2 separate regions of the Homo sapiens genome follow, and region 1 is linked to region 2. The links are contacts of gene promoters, found by promoter capture Hi-C in human tissues and cell types (Jung and others, 2019). All regions are on one chromosome and are shown on one strand. The core of a region is centred on a gene start or on the middle of the fragment in contact, and the rest is flanking DNA. Distances in the headings are between cores, read along the strand shown.

Region 1 (6,411 bases), core at 2,385-4,884, 1.1 Mb after region 2:
GTATTTGGAAATGAACAAACAGCATAAGAAAAGGCCAGATGTATAAAACAGCAAAGTTCATGCAGAGAAAAATACAAGCAAATTGATAGTGCTGGGATGTAAACTTGGTTATGGTCTGAAAAGGGTGAAAAGGTGGAGCTTTACAAAAAAGGCGAGTATGGAGAGGTCAGCATAAACAAGGTCATAGAGAATCTTACATGCTACATTGAAGAGCTTGGTGTTTTTCTTGGGGACAACATGGTGCCCCAGAAAGGTTTTGAGCTGAGGAGAGATAGGATCTATTTGTTGTGGATTCCTCTATCTATAGTGTACAGAACAGATCTAAGTCTACAAGGCTGGAGATATAGAAGTCAGCTCTTGGCTGTTGCAATGGTTCAGGTGAGAAATGGTGAGAGTCAAATCTAGCAATGACACTGGGAGGAAAGAAACAGTCTTAGAAGATTTGGGGAATAATATCTGCAAGATTAGTTGTAGATTAGCTGTGGTGTCTAATGAAAGGAAAAGCATCAAGAACAATGCCTAAGATGACCTCCTCAAGTCTTTTTCTTTCTTTTGTTCTTTCTGTCTTTCTTTTTCCCTTCCTTCCTTCCTTTCTTCCTTCCTTCTTTCTTTCCTTCCTTCTTTCCCTCTTCCTTCCTTCCTTTCTTCCCTCATTCATTTTTTCTTTGTCTTTGCCTCTTCTTCTTCTTCATGAATCAGATTGAAGTTCAACCAACATTTAGTAAGCATTTATTATGTTACAGTCATGTTCTAAACACTTTACAAAATCACATTTTGCTTCCCAAGAAACAACTCTATCAGAAAAGAGATAAAGTAGTGAAATCTTGGAGAGATAATCAGCTTGCTTAAGGTCAGCTAGTAGCAGAGATAGGAATAGATAGCATTTGTTTTAGAGAATACATGGAGTTTGCTTGAGTCCTAGACCACTGGAATGAGAATTTTATAAACTCAAAATGCATATTTGCAGTTATTCTAAAGAGAAGCATAGTGGGATAAATACTATAGCTTTATAATGATCGCTATTATTCTGCCACCAATCCAGTGGTAGGTTTAGAGATTTTAAACCAGTGATTTTCAAGCTTGCCTATACATTGGAGTTACCTAGGTAACCTTAAGAAACTTTTAGAAAACAACGATGCTGATCCCCTTCCTAGAAACTCTGATTAGATTGTTTTGAAGTACAACCTGGGCATCAGTATATTTAAAATCTCCAGGTGATTATAATGTATAGTCAAGGCTGAGCATCATGGAGCTAGCCCCAGAACAAGCAGAAAATGATCTTCTCTCCTGACTTCTGCACCTGGTCCTCTCTCCTTTCTCCTGCCTTAGATAGTGTGACTCTTGCACAAACGCAAAAGCATTCTTCCCAGCATGGCTCTCCCCTCTGCTGCAGCCTCCCCGCCGCTGGTGGTCCCATGCTCTTGGCACAGATGGATCTGCTACCTAATTGCCTGCTTATTTGTTAAGTGGTTGTCCCCAGCAGATGTTCCCATGTGGGGATTTGGAGGCCAGCATCTGTATACAAACAGCCGATTGCATCACTGTCCTGCTTTTGATCTAGTCTTAATGGGGCACCGCCCAGGCCACAGATGACCTTCCAAAACTAACCTGATGATAAGCTTTCTGATTCCCCATTTTCATCCCCAACTTGTTCTTTTAATCATCCTTCATGATCTTAGAGGCTCTGCGTCTGTCTTCTTGGATTACTTTCTTCCTCTGCTTTTTAAATTATTATTGTTGTTGTTGCTGTTGATCTTTCTCTTAGAATAACAGAGCATGATGGCAGCCTCAGTATCTTCATGGTACAAATGTGCTAACTGGGACACAAAAAGGCAAAGTCACTTCATCAGGAATAGGACACAGTCATTCAGGGGAAGAGCTGAGTTTTAGTTCTTCCATCTCTTATCTCCATTGCCATATACCACCTTACCCAGCCTCACCAAATGGACGATGGGTTTGATGGCTGATTCTGAAACCTCCTAACTGTGAGACTTTGACAAGTTACTTCACCAGAACTAGCAAGATAATAATATTCTATGTCTGCCAGTGTCATTATGAAGTTTAAAAATACTGTGTATGAAGCCCATAGCACCGGGTTAAAAGAGTTGTTCAGAAAGGTATGCAAAAATGCTGGAAAAGTGATAATGATGTCCAGCATGATGATTTAGTCCCAGGCATATGAGTTAGATATTCCCATTTGAATCTCCATTATCCCTGAGTAGCAGAGCTCCTTTGGTCAAGTTACTTCACCTCTTTGAGTCTCCATTTTCTCATTTTAAGAATGAAAATAAAAGTAATATTAATCTTACCTCATTGTAATAATATTGAGCACTTATTACACAACTTGGCACATATTGAACCTTAAGATAATGATAAATATTAGGGATGAAAGTGAGAAAGGAGAAAAAATGTAAGACAACAATGCTTTCTATCATGTAGAAAGAGCACTACATGAGGAGTCAGGACACCCGATTCTTAGTATAATACCAGCTCCGAGAGTAATTTTCTGTGTGATCTCTGATAAATTCCTTTCTATCTGTGTGCTTCAGAGGTCTTATCAGGAAGACTGGATGGTCTTTGTGCCTTCTTCCATACTGTGATCTCTATCTCAACAAAGCTCTAATTCCTCAATTCTCTCATCAGCCAAGGAATGTGACATGCCAGGGTCCTTCTGACTTCATAAAATAGGGTCCTTCTGGTTTCATAAAATCCTTTGCCTTCCCTATCTCCTTCCCCATCTTCCTAGCCTTTGTGCTATGACCTCCTTCTCACTGCCTTTTTCTGTACATAAGGAGGCAGTCTCACCCTCTCCTACAACCTTTGCCTTAAATGTGGGGAGAAGGACCCAAGAACCCAGCCATGGAGAAGAACCACCAAGTGCTTTTAGAGATTAAGCCATGGTCTCATGAGAAGACAGTGACTGTCAAGTGGAAAAACTGACAACAGCTTTAGCTCCAGTCATGCAAATAGTATTACTGCAAAGACATATATTTAGCATCTATGACATCAGCTTGATTTACCTTGATTAATGGAGCAATTTGCTGTGCATTTTTCCAAATGCTGTAATCAATTAGGGCTCAAAATAGATTAGAAAACCTCTATGACGTGGACACAGTCCAAAAAGGCTAATGCATTATAAAATATATGTATATATCCTTTCCAACGATGCAGTGGATGAAGATTTGTGTCTTGGACTAACTCAGAGGGGTTCAGGTTTATACAATTAGGCATCAGGCGCTTTTGATTTCAGGTATTGTTAAAGGCAAGTCAGGGGGAAAGGCGCCATGTAAATGCTACTCTATCTTGATCTAGCTTCTCAACATCTCTCCATGTATACTCTTTTCCCTACTCCAGTCCATTCTCACAGTGATGTTTATAAAACACTCAGCTGGTTATAGCCCACTTGTAACAACAGAATAGGCCCTAATCTCTTAGATTGACATTGACAGCCCTTTGAAATTGGCACCATAGTATTATTTCAACTTCATCTCCTCCTATGTCCCACACATTCCCCATATTTTATCTTTCTATATTTCTCAAAGTTCCCCCCAAATATATCACGTACTTCCTTACAACCCTGTATTTGACCCTACCTTCTCTCTGCCTTGAATAATAAAAATAACTCATATTTATGGAGTATTTTTTTATAGACCAGGCACTGTGCTAAATGTTCACCAAATATTATTGCCCTTAATTCTCCTAACCACCCCATAATCTGTGAAAGTTGAAATGCTTGATCTAAGTTGTACGTAAGTCAGTAACAACATTAAGATCAAACCCTGGTCGATCTAACCCCAAAGCCCTTGGTCTTTCTTCCTCTCCTTCTGTATAATTCCTTTATCTTTTCTTCTCAATCCTTCTCCACATTTCACACTCTCACTGTGCTCTTCTTTCCAGGAGGAAAGATACCTTTCAGACTTGGTGACAGTTAGATGCTAGAAGCTGAATGTGTGGCCCATTCAGAAATGAAATTACTCTGTGCCCAATTGACACGAGCTACTGCTCTAGGTAAAGTACCCTCCCAGGCACTAAATATGGTGCAGATGGATGGAGTGTAGTTTAAGGATTGAACATAACAAAGCACTGCTTGACAGAGACTCAAGTGACTTGGGATTAAATTATAGATATTCTATTAACCACGTGTATAATTTTGAGTCTCTCAGAATCTATACTTCATTGTCAATAAATAGAGATAATATTCTATATGATGCATTAATCAAATTGATATGAAGATATAAAAGTGTTTCATCAAGTACTTCACACAAAGTGTTGATTTTCCTACCTGGCACCCGGCCTGAAGGAACTTCTGATCCTAGCAGCTTTTGCTTTAAATTCTATGTAAAACTGTAAACTACAAAGCAGTGTGAATTCCTGTTAATTTCAGACAAGAATTAGAGAGCTGACTGTAAAACCATTGAAATTGCTGCCTGGTTCTTCAGGACTTCTCCAGGACCTCATAAAACCTGGGCCATAACTGGTCCTCAAAACCTGAGCCATAACTTGTCCTCAAAATACACCCACCAAATGAATGAATATTGCTGTCACTGCAGGAGAACCAGACTATGAAGTCAGAAACATGGGCTCTGGTCCCAGCTCTACTCCTCACTGACACTAGTAAGTAAATTCAGTTTCTTGTGGACTTGGTTCTTTATCTTTAAAAAGAGCATGTTAAAACCCTGACTTCATAAAGTTGTTATGTAGAGCAAATAAAACTCCACATGGAAGTGCATTGTAAACTATAAAGAGATGTGTATGTACAAGAAGACGAACAGAATTGACTTGTATTCCTAAAGGAATGCATAGGCATACAAGTGCTGTGCTTGAGGCTCTCAGAAGATCCCCATGCAAAAGTCTATAATTCAAGGTCTAGTGGTTTATTCCATTTTTACAAATGACCATTCATCATCTTGACCTGACACTTAGCGAATGAACCATAATATCCTCCAATCCACTGCTTAGCATATTCTTGGCAGAAAGAACATTAGAGACCAATGGATCCTCTACTTTCTTTTCCCCAGTACACACCATTGTACTGATGAGGAGCCTGACCCCCAGAGGGCAGGGACTGTGTCTTCCCCTTTCTTCAGCACTTAGCACAGTGCCTCGCCTATTACATTTTCATTAACTCTTCAATAAGTGAATAAATAAACAAATTAAATGACTTGTTGAAGCTACCCTCAGTGCCTAGCACAGGGCCTGACCTACTATGTTTAGTTGTTGTTGTTGTTTTTAATGAAATGAATAAATGGATAAATGCTCATCCAGCAAGTTGGTAGCAGTGATGGGACTCAGACCCCTTCCTTGGCAATCTGTATCCCAACATATCACAAGCTGGTATTCATCCTGGCTTGCATTTGCTGCTAATTGACTTAGGTTTGTGCATTTGTTTCTACATATGTACCTCTAACTCTGTAGAAGAAACAAGAGAGTTTGTCACTATGTCTCTGGGAATATATAGCTTAGGGTTTGTCACCCAGTAGGTAATCAATAAATATGTCTTAATTATATGAACCTGGGCAAATTAAAGAAGCTATCTGGAGTGTGACTTCTGAGGAAGAGACCTGGTAGGAAGTATTTGTGTGGTCTCATAATGTATTTATTTACAAGACTAATGTTTGTCTAAGCTCCAGAAGATTTCTGGCTTCATTTTGGTAACTGTGTGCATTTGTGTTATTTTCCATCCTTCTGGGGAAAATAGCCCATCCTTCTGGGGTCCAGCTGGGCTACAAAGTAATAAACAGACATAAAAATTGGCTGACTCCATGACAAGAAGTGGGAGCAACCCAAACCCTTTAAGAAATTCTTCTCTCAGTAGTGAATGCACCAGCATCCAGCTAGTTCAAGCAGGGTTCAAGTAAGCACTCTAACTTTGTGAAAACTATTTATGACCAGCACAATAAAACCTCTCTACCCACTCAGTTGCTGGGCATTTGAGACATAGTTGTTTTTCTTTCAGTCTGTTCTTTGACAGCAATCAACAACATTGAGTTACTTTGACAATTTTGACAACTAATTCAGGGTATGAGCAAGCCTCTCCTTTTGTTTACTTAGTATATCCCTTTGCAATTTAAGAATTCTACGGTGTCTGATACAAATCAATGGTCTTACTTCCTTCTGAATGGCTGAACCAAGTTTAAAACTACTGTCTAAAATATCTTACTGGATATTCTGAAGAGACCAAATCAGTTTCAAAGGTTCATCATGTCTCTTTGCTCATGACATTTACTTCACAATCCCATAAACTCCAAAAAAATTACTATAGTATGCATTTGACAGATGACTCATTTGCCAATCTGTTTATTTCATGTATATTGAATTGATAAACTTGTCCCAAAAGATAGATTAAGAGGTAAAAGCCATGGTCTGTGTCCTAAAGGATACCATGTCCAGGCATGAAAAATGAAGCATGAG
Region 2 (6,197 bases), core at 2,874-5,373:
CAGGACCTAGAAAGACTCCCTTGCATCTTTCACAAACATTTGAGTAGTACCTACGCTGCCAGTATGACTCAAGGAATATAAGACAAAGGAAAAATCAATAGCCCCTTCTCAGGGACCTCCAACTAACCTCAACCCTCTCTCTCTTTCAATTCCTTTCTCTGCATATAACATCTGTTCATTTAATCATGAGATTATGATTAAAGGATCAAGGAGATCCTAGGAAATATACAAAATGGGATGAGAATTTTGGGGAGACTAGCAGAGACTACTTAGGGTTATCAAAATCTGGCAAAGAGCCTGAGCAACAGAGTGAAACACCATCTCTACAATAAATTTAAAAGATAATCAGGTGTGGTGGCATGCACTTGTGGTCCCAGCTACTTGGGAGGCTGAGATGGGAGGATCACTTGAGCCTAGGAGGTTGAGGCTGCAGTGAACTGTGATTGCACCACTGCACTCCAGCCTGGGTGACACAGCAAGACCCTGTATAAATAAATAAATATGACAAAGCAACACTTAGTTCTCTTCCAGCACTGCCTTCCTCTCATAATTGCTAACACTCTTAAAGCAACTACTATTTATTGTCAGGCATTTTTTTATATGTTCTCATAGTCTCATAATAACCATGTAAAGTAAGTGTGATTCCTCTTCAAAAATAAGGAAACCAATGCTCAGAGAAAGTAGCCTGTCCAAGGTCTCAAAACCAATAAGTAATAGAGCAAGGATTCAAATCCCAGTATCAACTCCCAGCCATAAAATTACTAACTTAAAGGATGTTTCATAGTTCCCTAGCTTTAGACAAAGTCTGGCTGAGAGGTTGGTAAGGGCACCTAGAAATGATTTTTAAATTTGATTGTTTTACCAGAAAGACAAGATGGAGGGAATGTCACAAAGGTTACACATCAGTGTGCATAGACAATGATCTACTTTAAGGGCCTTATAAACTTCTGGCTTCCAACTATTCTCCAGACATAAACATAGGGGCTCTGAAGGGTTGGAAAAGGCTTCTAATAAAACTACTATAATGTAACATAGGTGTAAGACAGAACTGGGTTTGTATCCCAACCTAGCTACTTGCTCTGTAGCCCTGGGTAAGTCATTTAACCTGTTATTTTTCTTATCTGTAAACAAGGAATAAAACCTAGACTGTTAGCAGGATTGAATTCACTAAGATAATGCACATAATAAGCACTCAACAAATTATAATCATTTGCATTTTTAATAGATTGAGGCTGACAGGACAAGTGCCGTAGCTACTGACAAGGTAACATAGGAAATTAGAGTAAGGAGTTTAGACAGGGCTGATTTAATTCCCATGACATATTTTCTTTTAGGGATGTGCACAGATATTCCAGCTAAGTCTTGCTGTCAGACACAGTCTAGCTTTGTTTCTGAACTGGCTTCAGCAACCCTGTAGCTAGTCCTGGAAATGATAGAGCCAAATTCTGTTCCAGGGAAAAGCAGACCAAAAGAGACCATACAGAACAGTAGTTACTCTCCTTCAGAGTATGACTGCCTTCAGCCTCAGTCCCTGCTATGAGGTGTTTTTTCAAGCCAATGGCCTCCATACCTCACCCTATAGTCCGTTGCACCTCATCCTGCCTGATAACCTCAGGCTCCTCTCCTTATCTAGCCCCAGGTCTTGGTCTAAGGGCAAACCAAGAACAAAGTCCAGGGCTCCTCCCTACCTAATCAGAGAGATTTACCCCCCAACTTTAGAGTTCAATCTGATAGTCAGTGATACTCACTGGCAATCCTCTTTTTCATTAGAGGGGAATGGGCTGAGAAAATAAGACTAAGCAGGCCCTAGCAAGGAAGAAGCAAGGAAAGCGGGAATATACGGAGTTACAGAGATCTGGGTATGAGCTTAACTGTGTCATTCCTAGCTATGGAAACTTAGGCAAGTCACTTCCTAAGCCTTAGTTTCCTCATGTGTAAAACTGAATACAGTAGAGCCTACTTAGAAGGACTGTCATGAAAACTGAGTAAAGAAGTAGATACAAGACTAAAAATTACTAGATTTTGAGAACTTACTATGTGCCAGATCCTAGGCATGCTAGTTTACTTCACTAAATCCTCACAACAATTCTGTGACATTGGTCTTGTTATCATAACCCCATTTTACAGATGAAGAGCCAAGGCACTGGGTGGTTAAGTAACTCATTCAAGGCCACAAAGTCAGGAAGAGATAGAGCTAGGACTTAAAGTCAGGAAGAGATAGAGCTAGGACTTGAACCCAGGGTATCTGACTCTAGGTCAGAGTGCCTCAACTTTGGCATTACTGACATTTTAGGCAGGATAATTCCTTACTGCGGGGGGGAAGGGCGTATCCCACACATTGTCAAATGTTTAACATAAAACATTATGTTTAATGTTTAATCTACCCACTTGAGGCCAGTAGTATCCCCCACCCTGTGACAACCAAAAAACATCTCCAGACATTGCCTAATGTCTCCTAGGAGACAAAGCCAGACTTGGTTAAGAACCACTGCTTTACAGTCTAGCACAGGACTAAATGCTCAATACCTAAGGGTTCCCTTTTTTTTTTCTGGTGGTTGTTGTTGTTGTTTTGTCTGTCTCCGAGCCCAAACACCTCACTCACAGAGCCACTGCCCCTTCAAGCTGTAATGGATCTTATATAGGATAAATTATTCCACTCATTCCCCTGGAGGTCTCACTTTCTATCTGCTATCGTAGCTTGGGGGTACAGGGAAAAAGGGCTTAGGCAGATGACCTTGAATAGTTCCACTTCTTCTTCCCCAAAGCCTACCACTTTCAGTGGGCCGGGGGACCGGTGGTCAGAATGGAGTTAGTGGCAATACCATACCTGCCTCATGATAACGGATCTTTGTTTAATAAATGAAGAAGATTCTGCCCTTCACAGGGATTACCACACTCCTTCAGGATTATCTGAACTGAAGATTTATCACTTTGTTCCTCAGCACCTGAACTCTGCTCATCTTCATATACTCATCCAGTTTCATACATTACTTTTAGGTCCTTGGGTCCCCTGAACTCCCTCTGTCTCCCATGCAGCGATTTAAGGAAAATCTCTTTAGCAGCCCAAGACACCAATCCACAAATCTACTCAGGGTCCTTTGATTTTATAGCCCAGTTAGGACATCTCCACCCCACGATTCAATCCTCTCCAAACCCTGTCCCCAACCCTCTTACAATTCCAAATTCCAATCTTTGGGGCTGTATATTGCAACCCTCGTCAATTCCTCACTCATATGCCCCAAATCCCTCGGACTCAGATCGTTTAATCCCTATTTCCAAATCTCTGCCACACTCAGCCCCGCACCTCAGTTCAACGCCCCAATTCCTCACCCCAGATTTCTGCTCTCCCTCAATCTGAGCCCCCATCTCCTGCATTCCATCGGGCACTGTGCTGCCCTCATACCCTGCTCCTTCCTCTTATGCACTGAATGTCATGTGCTGCCTTCACACCTCAGCCAGCTCCCTTCTTTCTGCTAACAAGATAGAGTCCCTCAAGAACTCACCCCACCCCCTCAATCTCACCCTCAGCCCACTCCGAAAACCCTTTCTCAATAGCACTTAGGATCGCCCTAGACCTTGCTCCTATCATCTCAGACCCTGTCCTTGCCAGATGCCTAGCGCCCCCAGATTTCCTCAAATCTCATCGGGGCCCCCCAGTTCCTTCATATTTCTGAAATTCTGCACCCAGGTCCCTCCAGGGCCCTGATTCCCTCCCATCTCCCACATGCTACACCCCGTTCCTCCTCAGGGCCCCGACATTACCTCATACCTCCCGAGATGCTGCAACCGCAAATCTCTTCAGAGCCCCTCGCTCCCCTCCCCCAGCTGCATCTCCTCGGATCTCCTCAGCCCCACGAATCCCTCCCGAGCCTGCCCCTCGCAGCCCCACCCCCACCCTAGTCCTGCCCCCCCCAGATCCGGTCCCCACACCCTGCCATTCGGGCGCGGCCGCTGCACGCCGGCACGTTCCCCCGCCTGGCCGCTGAGCCACGGCCCACGACTCCGGCCGCGGTCCCCAGTCCCCAACCCTCCTTCCCGCCCCCTACCTGACCGCCCGCGGCTCCGACGAGTCCACCGCCGGCAGCCCACCCGCCTGCCTCCCTCTGCGCACGCGCCGTTGAGCACCCCTTGCCGGGCGCCAATTCGCAGAGCTCCCTGTCCGTCACTGAGCCCCGCCTCCCCAGCATGCTGGGGCTTGTCGTGCAGCTGGCCCCAAGCGCGCGGGGCAAGGCGGCCCTGCAGGGGTGAGCTTTCCTCTGAGAACCCGGGGCCTTAGCGACACGTAATCCAGTTTTCCGTCTCCTTGGTGCAGATGAAGAAACCGACGCCCATGGGCGAAAGGGACCTGCTCAAGTTCACTCAGTAAGTCAGGAGATAAGCCAGAATGCGTATCTGACTCCAGTCTCAATGTCTACCCCTTCACAAAACGGTAGCCTCCAGGGTAGTCCTCAGCAAAGCGTTGGCACCTTACTGAATCTGTTTTTCCATCTGAGAAATGGGCCAACGGAAAAATCAAACTTCCATTCTGGGGAAGTCGAGAACCGGGACTCCCTAGGAAGGGCAGTGCTTTGGCCTCATGTTCTGTGCTCTGACAGAGAGCTGCACTAGAGACAAGTTTATCCATGAACACATTGCTCTGTAAAGGAATGTTTTGCCTACTCAGCTGGGAGGCCGACAGCAGAGGCAGACTTGGGGAGTACACTCTGCAGCCCCTGTCCCTGCAGACTGAAGGTACCCGGGAACCCAAACCAAGTGTAGTTTTGCTCGGGTGAAGGTGGAGGAATCTTACCAGGTGGGAGGTGATCTGGCCTGAGATTTGAGGGAATCTGGGGCACTAGGCATCTGGCAAGGACGAGGTCTGATACAGGACTGGCTGGCCACGACCTGCAGTCCCTGAAGTAGTTTGGGGCCAATCACCTACTCTCCAAGGTGACTATACTGTACAGCTTAGGAGCACAAAGGAGTTTGAAGTAGGATGGACTTGGATTTGAAATTCCCCTTAGCTATGTGACCCTGCACAATGATAAAACAATAAACAAAAACAATGACTAACATCTTTGAACACTTGCTGTCTGGCTACAGCTGAGGACTTCAGGTGCATAGCTCACTAAATCCTCATAAGGACCTAATGAGATAAGGCAGCTGATGGTTAACCTACACCTGTTGTGTAACCTAGGTGGTTACACAAGGCCACATATACCTAAGTGTTGGAGCCCAAATTTGTACCCAATTCTATCTGAGAACCCACTCTCTTAACCTTGTTTACTCTTTCTCCCCATTTTCTAAATTTCTAATTGAAGTTTGCCATGAAGATAAGCCAAGATTATGGTAGTTTGCACTTAATGATAACTATATTTGAAAAATTGTAATTAGCAGGTAGGGGATAAGGGAGAGGTAATGCCAAATGATTTCTCACTTAGACCAGTTGGGGAGACTTTGCACCCGTTTAAAATTTTTTTTTTTCCTGAAAACCACAGTTATCAGCCCAAAGTATAAATTTAGGACTGTTCATAGTCTTACATATATACATATTATATATGTGTGTATATGTATCAATACAGACATACTGATGTTTCCCTAATTACAGAGGAGTGTTAAAAATACTCCTGGGGATCTAGCTCAAGCAAGTGTCTTGAAAAAAAAAAATCTCTCTTCTCCCTTAAAACAAAAATCAGTGTTTGACTCTTCTTTAATGTTTATTACCAGTTAAATGAATTATTATACCTCTCACAAAATCTTAGAGTAGAATAAGCATTCTAGGAAATGCACTCAATTTTTATCTTATAGCTTGACATATCCTGGCACAATATTAGAATTCCTCTTACACAGAGGCATTTAAAAAATAATCTTTGTGGAGTGCTTTAAACACTCTTTATTCAGCATTTTAATGTAACAGATTTTTATTTAACACTTAAATCACCTATATCAGTGGAACCACCTGAGGAGTTTACCTTGCCCACTGCCTAGACAGAGCTGATTCATCAAGACAGGGGAATTGCAATAGTTAAAGAGTAATTCACGCAGAGTCAGCTGTGCGGGAGACTGGAGTTTTATGATTACTCAAGTCATCTCCCTGAGCATTTGGGGAACAGAGATTTTAAGGATAACTTGGTGGGTTGGGGGAAGCCAGTGAGCCAGGAGCGCTGTTGGTCAGGGATGAAATCATAGGGAGTCGAAGCTGTCTCCTTGCAGTGAGT

The links. Contacts are between HindIII fragments. The study calls those that stand out against the background at their distance.
Region 1: a contact is called between a fragment that was not itself captured here and the fragment with the promoter of TRIM32 in region 2, in 1 of the 25 tissues and cell types used here (dorsolateral prefrontal cortex).

What each region holds. Positions count from the first base shown.
Region 1 is chr9:115,598,264-115,604,674 of GRCh38, reverse strand. The region is part of intron 2 of LOC105376235 (a long non-coding RNA gene); the gene reads right to left. Among named protein-coding and RNA genes, the nearest start is that of LINC00474, 320 kb to the left of the region's middle. The HindIII fragment of the contact is 4,569 bases long and covers 1,350-5,918 here.
Region 2 is chr9:116,685,231-116,691,427 of GRCh38, reverse strand. It overlaps TRIM32 (tripartite motif containing 32), which reads right to left and starts at 4,123. Exons shown (of 2, transcript NM_012210.4): 1 at 4,047-4,123. All of the region lies in intron 16 of ASTN2 (astrotactin 2), which reads left to right. RefSeq lists enhancers at 3,647-3,696, 4,137-4,456 and a silencer at 3,867-4,066. The HindIII fragment of the contact is 20,788 bases long and covers 1-6,197 here.